Regions from separate parts of the Homo sapiens genome. Here region 1 is linked to region 2. The links are contacts of gene promoters, found by promoter capture Hi-C in human tissues and cell types (Jung and others, 2019). All regions are on one chromosome and are shown on one strand. Each heading gives the region's core, a stretch centred on a gene start or on the middle of the fragment in contact. The rest is flanking DNA. Distances are from core to core; before and after follow the strand shown.

Evidence for each region. Contacts are between HindIII fragments. The study calls those that stand out against the background at their distance.
Region 1: a contact is called between a fragment that was not itself captured here and the fragment with the promoter of KCNJ13 in region 2, in 1 of the 25 tissues and cell types used here (adrenal gland).

What each region holds. Positions count from the first base shown.
Region 1 is chr2:232,731,187-232,735,295 of GRCh38, reverse strand. It overlaps GIGYF2 (GRB10 interacting GYF protein 2), which reads right to left. Exons shown (of 29, transcript NM_001103146.3): 3 at 58-141. The coding sequence starts at 98. Among named protein-coding and RNA genes, the nearest start is that of GIGYF2, 36 kb to the right of the region's middle. The HindIII fragment of the contact is 4,206 bases long and covers 1-3,806 here.
Region 2 is chr2:232,774,373-232,778,798 of GRCh38, reverse strand. It overlaps KCNJ13 (potassium inwardly rectifying channel subfamily J member 13), which reads left to right and starts at 2,234. Exons shown (of 3, transcript NM_002242.4): 1 at 2,234-2,354. The region is part of intron 8 of GIGYF2 (GRB10 interacting GYF protein 2); the gene reads right to left. The HindIII fragment of the contact is 9,389 bases long and covers 1-4,426 here.

The DNA of each region.
Region 1 (4,109 bases), core at 454-2,953, 43 kb after region 2:
ACTTTACTACTGTATTAGTCATCCAATATCAAAGAAGATGAGATTTTGAAAACTCACCATTCAGGCCCAAAGTTCAGTGTCTGCGTTTCCGCTGCCATTCTTTTCCGTATTTTTACAATAGATTTTTATATGTGAAGAAACCTGTTAACGAGAAAAATATCTCCATACTATTAGTTGAGATTAAATGTGGAATTCCAGGCCAGAAAGTACAGTTAGAGAGTGTTTTATTTATGCTCCTCTCAACTAGAGTCACAAAAATGAGATTTTGAAATTCCTACTTAAAACAATAATATAGCAGGCAAAGTGAAATGAATAAATCAACCCTTATATTCTGACTCCCCACCTTTCTATGTTAATCTGGGGTAAGGAGGCACAGTTTAAGATGAAGCTAGTGAGAGAGGTAGGAACAGACCACACAGGGCATTGGAGACTAAGTTAAGGATTTTCTCCCTTTATCCCTGGAACAATGGGGAGTGAATGAAAGGTAATAGATTTACATTTTAGTTCATATTACTTCCTAGTAATGACTCCCCTATCACCATGAGGTACATCAAAGATTATTAAAATAAGGACCCTCCTTACCTATCACATAGCTTCTGCCACAACTCTCCTCACCTTCTGCTTATTAGCACTTTACACCCTAGTGATTTTTTTTTAACAGACAGTGTGTATCACTATGTTGCTCAAGCTGGTCTCGAACTCTTGGCCTGACCTCAAGTGATCTTCCTGTCTCAGCCTCTCGAGCCTACTGCTTCTTTTAAAAATTATCTTGGATCAGGCCAGGAACCACCAGGCAAGGTGGCTCATACCTGTAAATCCAGCGCTTTGGGAGGCCAAGATGGGAGAATCGTTGGAGCCCAGGAGGTGGAGACGTGGTCTCTAAAAAAAAGAAATGTTAAAGATCAACTGGGCATGGTGGTACATGCCTGTAGTCTTAGCTGCCTGGGAGGGTGAGGTGGAGGGATCACTTGAGCCCAGGAGTTTGGGGCTGCAGTGAGTTGTGGTCCTGCCACTGCACTCCAGCCTAGACGATGGAGTGAGACCCTGTCTCTACAAAATAAACAAATAAAAATAAATTTATAATTTGGGAGGCCAAGCCAGGCAGACGGCTTGGGCCCAGGAGTTCAAGACTGGATTGGGCAACATAGTGAGACTCCATCTCTTTAAAAAAAAAAAAAAAAAAAAAGTTTTAAAATAAATAAATAAAATATAAATTTTTTAAAAGTTGCTTCAGATTGTCAAGTTAAAATAATAAACTAATGAATTTCACAAGTGACATTTCAAAAGTAATCTTAAGATATGAGAGCTTAAAAAAATGGAAAATACTATAAAAATTGTAAATATAACTGGCCCTCCATATCCATGGGTTCTGGTTCATGGATTCAACCAACCTCGGATGGAAAAAAATTTTTTAATTGCGTCTGTACCAACATGTATAGACACTTCTTTTCCTTGTCATTGTTCCCTAAACAATACAGCAGAACAACTATTTACACAGCATTTATGTTGTATTAAGCATTATAAGTAATCTAGAGGTGTTAAAGTATATAGAAGTATGTACATAGGTTATACGCAAACACTATGCCATTTTACATTAGGGACTTGAGCATCCAAGGATTTTAACATCTGAAGGACATCCTAGAATGAATCCCCATGGATACTGAGGGACAACTGTATACTGTAAAATATCTCTAAGATACATCACACACGGCACTGGGGACCAAGTTAAGGATTCTCTCCCTTTATCACCCTGTTGCCTCTGTTTAAATGATCTAAAAAATAATAAACTACAAATATGTCTAAAGCTTAGAAACAGCAAAGTAAAAGTGTGTTAACCTTCATAATCAGCTATTCATTTATCTGCCTTCCTTCTGAAAGGTACTTCCAGCCCTGTGTCAACCAAGCAGACTCCAAGGGAGATTATCCTGTTCTTACTTGACCCTGACTCCCTGCTCCCCCACCACACAAAAGGTGCAAACCAGACTAAAACTGAGGTAAACTTAGTCCCCTCCTCATCACTTTTTTTTTTTTTTTTTTTGAGACAAGAGTCTCGCTCTGTCGCCCAGGCTGGAGTACAGTGGCGCGATCACGGCTCACTGTAAGCTCCGCCTCCCGGGTTCACACCATTCTCCTGCCTCAGCCTCCCGAGTAGCTGGGACTACAGGCACGTGCCACCACACCCGGCTAATATTTTTGTATTTTTAGTAGAGACAAGGTTTCACCATGTTAGCCAGGATGGTCTTGATCTCCTGACCTCGTGATCAGCCTGCCTAGGTCTCCCAAAGTGCTGGGATTACAGGCGTGAGCCACTGCGCCCCGCCCCTCCTCATCTCTTAAAACAACTAGTGATTCAAAGAAAACATAACTGCCGAGCATGGTGGCTCATACCTGTAATCCCAGCACTTTGGGAGGCCAAGGTGGGTGGATCGCTTGAGCCCGGAAGTTCAAGACCAGCCTGGGCAACATGGCAAAACCCTGTCTCCACAAAAATATATAAAAATTAGCTGGGCATGATGGTGCGAGCCTGTAGTCCCAGCTGAGGTGGGAGGATCACTTATGCTGTGGAGCTTGAGACTACAATGAGTCGTGATTGCACCACTGCACTCCAGCCTGGGCAACAGAGCAAGACCTTGTCTCAATTAAAAAAAAAAAAAATTAAAAAAATTAAAATAAAAAAGAAAACACTATTTTTAACATTTTAATTTCTCTGAAATTAGAATGCATCTTAAAACTGATGCCAAGTTACAACTGCTACTGGCTGGGTGCGAGTTGTGTTACAGCTGTCTGAACAAGGGCCAATTTTTTAAACCGCTGTTTTAAATGTCTTCAAAATAATATGATTCTGTATCAAAACTAAATTTATTGTATAACAGAAAAGAAGCAAATACAGCCATGGAGTATTAGTGAAGTAACTATTCATCATTCAAAGAATGATTCCAAGTGATTTACAGGACCTCAGAAAGAAAGGGGGGAAAAACACACAAGCCAATGGAGTCTGTTATGGTTTGCTACCGATACTGATGACACTGCACAACCCATATGACCACATGCAGCAGCCCTGAAGTACTAAAAGGGATTAAAAATTAAATAGCTTATATTGCTCTTAAAATCTTCACAAGCATCAAACGACTAAATTTTAAATTGATGACAGAGTAATAGAGAATTCCCTTAACTACTGCATCACCAATACTTTGCATGACTGGTGGGGAGAGGGAGGAAGAAAGCAGGAGACTTCTATGATGCCAAGTTGAAAAGTGATTTAGAAAAGTCAGACTCTAAATACCCAGAAATCTTACGACTATCTTAACAAATTTATTTTACTTCTATTTTCATTTTCATACATGCAATAGAAGGATACACTGTTTAATAAAAATCCATTCTTATTTGCTAAATAAGTTTAACAGAGCTTTTTTAAAAAATATAAAATAATTCTAACAAGAAAAGCCTGTGCCAGATGTGCCGGAGCCTTCTTGGCAGTATTCCTTTCTTTCTCAGTAATGCACAAAATGATTAATCTTATAGTTGACACATGTTAGATTCAATTAAAATTATGGTACATTCCAAATGAATGACTTGTCAAGGTAGCAATGATCAGACCCCAGGAAAGGTGCCCACTGTTAAACTAAAACAGGCATCACTGCTTACACAACAGTCTTATGACTTTTTGTAACATAAATCAATTCAGTGTGTTTTCTAAAAGTATGTGGACCTACTTGGATGACAAACAGAGATGAAGAGACTACATCAACTAGAGCTGTAGAGACCACATCAATTGTAAGGTTTTTCTTTAATACTAAACATCCTGAAGGAGCGGTTTTACCACCATTTTAAGCCCCATCTAGCCAAATGTTTTAAACTCAAACCCGTAGAGGATTTTAGAGCATTGAATAATGGCTCTGCATTTATAAAGCAAGTCAGGATTTAAATCAGACTGAATTTATAAAGCAGGTAAATCTCAACTAAAATTCAAAGTATTTGCTATTTGTGAAAATACTAAATTCATTGTTAGTGATTTAATTTTTTCCCCTTTAACTTACTACAAGGCCATCACATATGCTCACATAGGTTCTGGAAGTACAAAACTCCAGGGTCACTATTAACACAAATGA
Region 2 (4,426 bases), core at 985-3,484:
TCCTCCCCTCATTTTCCCACAGCTTGTCAATACCTTCCCCCAGGACCTCCACATCCCTATTCCAATGCTATAAGAACTTCAATCATCTGGTCCTTCCTCAAGTCTCATGTTTTGTGGGACTCTTGTGCATAAGGATGTAAACTGTTTTTCTTCTGTTAAGTCTACCTACTGTTGCTTTATATTATAGACTCAATTATCAAACCTTCAAAAGGAAGAGAGAAGGTCTTCTCTCTCCCCTACACCAGCTAACCTGGTAACTTCAACCAGAAATGACTTTAAATGCTCAGGCTATTGTAATGGGAGAGCTATGCTCCTAAGTGGGCACTTCAGAGCTGGTCTACAATATTCACAGCAGTAGGAATCACTGTTTATAGACCATAGCAAGACTTTCAAATTGTAGAGATCCAGAAATTAGCTTCACTTAAGACATTTCTTTCTTAATTGAAGATCATTTTGCCAAATCATTTTTGTCTCAATATATTGAAACCAAGTATACTATGGAAAAAGACTTTTAAGTTTAATAAAATCCTTAACTGTCTTGCCTACTATAATATGTATTCTCAGGCCAGGTGAAGTGGCTCATGCCTGTAATCCCAGGAATTTGGGAGGCTGAATTGAGAGGACAGCTTGAGCCCAGGAGTTCAAGACCAGCCTAGACAACACAGCAAGACCCTGCCTCTACAAAAAATAAAAAATTAGCCAGATGTGGTGGCATTACTGCAGGGGGTGGGGGATGAGGTGGGAGGATCACTTGAGCCTGGGAGGTCGAGGCTGCAGTGAGCTGTGATCACACCACTGCACTCCAGCCTGGGTGACACAGCAAGACTCTATGTCTAAAAAAAATGAAAATAAAAAATATACAATGTATATTCAAAACACATGACAGATACACTCAAGTGCTTCTGCTTTCTAGAAGCAGTATTATACTATACTTGTTCTAGTATTTTGTTGTTGTGTTGTTCTGTTTTTCTGCAATTTGTTAGCTGGGAATTGATACACATTATAATTCCTACCAGTACATGCAGGGAATGAGCATCACACCACAAATCCTTCTTTATACTTTACCTTCCCTAGTTCTGAAGGTCAGTGTTTCTAATGCTGTGTCTGAACTTGTGTTGAAGTATTTGGTACTAATAAAACAAAGAAGGAATTAATATATTTTTTAAATTGTGGGGCGGGGGGGGGACGGAGAGGATTCTACAAAGGCGGATTTCACTTTCTAAGTAGCATTATATTGGTCTACATTAATAATTTTCCCAGCAGGCCTTCCAAGATTTTACTTTGAACAATCACAGTCTTTGTTTCTCAGATCCTCTTACATGTGACATTTGGTCAAAGTTTTAAAATCAGCAGCTAACGGAGGAGGAGAAAAGTACTGTTCACTAAGGCACTGCACAAAGCCATACCACAGCACGTTTCAGGGTTCCAACAAGCTGGATCACATTTTCCAGCTAAACACTATTTCAATGTTGTGTTACATTTTCTGTACACTGTACACTATGTTTTATTAACACTATACTTCATCACACTGATCAGGAAAACATCTTCTAAACATCATTAAAATAAGCCTTAAGAAAATTCTTCGGTTCTTTCCCACAGGTGTGCATTTTTTAAAGTATCAGGTACAGAACAATTAATTTTATTCCTATTCAAGGTCTTTGTATACAGCCTTTAAAAAAAAAAAGTTTGTTTCCTAACCAAAAAAATAAAAGATTTCACGTAATTATCTATATTACTAGTTCTGGAACTAATGGTAGCCATTCTGATGAGACATGAGAAGAAAACTAAGAAAATCAATGCATTAATTTATGCCTATAAGTCCTTATCCAAATAAATCTTCCCCAAAGACATGGTGGAAAAAAAAAAAGATTAGTAAAGGAAATATCTCACACTTCAACATGCTATATAAGGAAAGACGGCTGAAAAATCTTGCAGGGAATTTTATCCCTTTGAACTTTCAAAAAAACTCTTAAGTAAGATTATGCAAACTTACTAAAGACCGGTCCTGATTAGAGGGAAAAAATGCACCCCTTCTCCAAGTCAGTTCTGGAGGCTTTCTCCAGAGTTGTTAAGGTTTGTGTTGGGTAAAGAAAGACCTCCTAACAAACCAGCATTCTTTTCCACATGATCAGAGCTAATTGGCCCCCCTGCAGGCTAAGTGACCAATCACATCAACCTCAGCTGAAACCAGCCCCCACAACATTATAAACAGAGGAATGTAAGCTGTAAAACCAGTCCAAGAAGAGAACCTACAAACTAGACTTGTAGATTAAAATTATCTGATCAAAAAGGCAGACTCTGTAAATTTCCTTAAGACCTACCTTGGCATAAAGGCTGACCCAGCAAAAGAACTGGTGAGTACATGCAATAATATCCATTCTTCTTTCCTTATGGGAAACAGGGAAAGAAACTGACTGGCAAATAGCAACAGAGCTAGATTACTTCCAACAGATTTTTAAAACAAAGACATTATCTATAGTGTAGGATAGTAAGGTTTCTATATTCTTTTCCCTTAAATCTTAAAAATGCAATAACAGCCATATTGAATGTATTACTGGAAATTTTCTTAACTGTTTTATTAAATGTATACTAATTTTCTATTACAATATATCAGTAGAGGATAAAGGCCTTAGGAAAAAAAATTCAGTGGCTTGAGGAAAAAAAAAGTCTTTTTCTTTTGGAAGGAATTTCAAAAACCCAAAATGAGCATAAAAAAACAAATGCCAAAAGAATAAGCCACTTTGTTTTTACTTCTGTAATCTAAGAAGAAAGTGATGAGTATCCTAATCGTAAATTTTTAAGCATGGAATTATTGCGGAAATTAATAGATACTTCTGCAACTGAGAAATTAAAATAGAATCTCTGAGCTTATATAACAGGGTTAGAACTCAATAGTGTTTGCCCTAATTGTGGAGGGCAGGAGAAATCATTATAAGACTTTCAATATAGTCTTAAAGTATTTACACCAGACATGAACAAATACATAGTAATGCCATCTTCATTTAATGTTTGTTAGTTATAGCCTTTATCTTAACTCCTCAGTATGAACTATACTATTTTTTATCATGGCAACAGAAAATACATACTTTTAAGTGCTACAACCCAATGAGTAGAATGAATTCTGATGATCAGTGAAGCTGCCTATCATTTTTTAATAGGTACTATTTTTCCTCCAAATAATTTATAAATGGGCAAATATTTTACAGCCCACACACAGCAATAGAAGCAAACCTTCCCAACCTTCCACCTCACTTTCTATTGGGATCAGCTGATGAGACTTAAATATCAGGTAACAATAGTATAATTTTTTAAACCATACGAGCAGACATCAAACTATACAGAAATAAAAGAAATCATATAGGAAACTTGTATCCTTTGTAGGAAGTGGAAATATGTTTGTTTACATAAGTCTGTAGAGCTTTAAGAAATCTTATTATCATAATTCCCTCTTTTTTCACTTTCTTTGTTTTAATCTAAGGATGCCAGGCCAATGGGATTGAGTGGTTTGCCCAAAATGACACAGCTATGTAACCAACAGTGCTAGAGCCTGAAGGCCATATCCCCTTATCCTGCGTTCTCTACACTAAACCACACTGACTATAAGAGTCCACAGAATAGTTATTCAGGGTAATTGGTTAAGTGGGAATCAGAAATCAATCTTCCTTCTCTATATTACTCCACTTGCCAACACAATCCAAACCAAATCCAGCAGTCTTAGGTTAAAAAAAAAAAAATGCTGCTTAACTGTTCCGATTATCAGCCTTTTGACTTCCCTGTTCACAGGTTTTTCCATGTATTTAGTTGCAAGAGAAAAAAAATACAATTGTAAAGAGCCTAGAGTAAGAGTGCTACAAAAGTTGTAGGTAAGAAGTAACAACAGTCCTGAAAAAGCCCAAATGAGAATGATGAATTTTGTTAGCTACAGTCTATACAGAAAGGCTCTAAGTAAGGAATTTTAGAACTTTCATAAAATAGGTTGAAAATACAAAAGAATCATGGAGTTTTTTCTTTCTCAAGCTTTTGTGAAACACTAAGCACTTAGCAGCATTCAGTAGGACAGTGGCTCCAAATGTGGAACAAGCACTAGTGTCCAGGAGCATGAGGGGCATTTTCACATAGGCAGGAAGCAACAACAGTGGAGAATGACAAAGTTGTTCACCCACCATTTTGAAGGCAACCAACTATCCTTTCATTGTTATATCCTTCTTCCATGTGTCAAAATCTTTTATTATGTCATCATAATTTTATTTATAATGACAGTATTATACTTGTAAAATTGTCTTCTCATCTGGCAAAACAGAAACTTGGCAATGTTATGTCATAACTCTCCTCTCTACATTGCTTTAATTTTACTGATGTGCAAAACACAACTGGACTATCTAATAATTCAGACTGTGATAATCTTCAAGTCTTGAAAGAAGTCTTT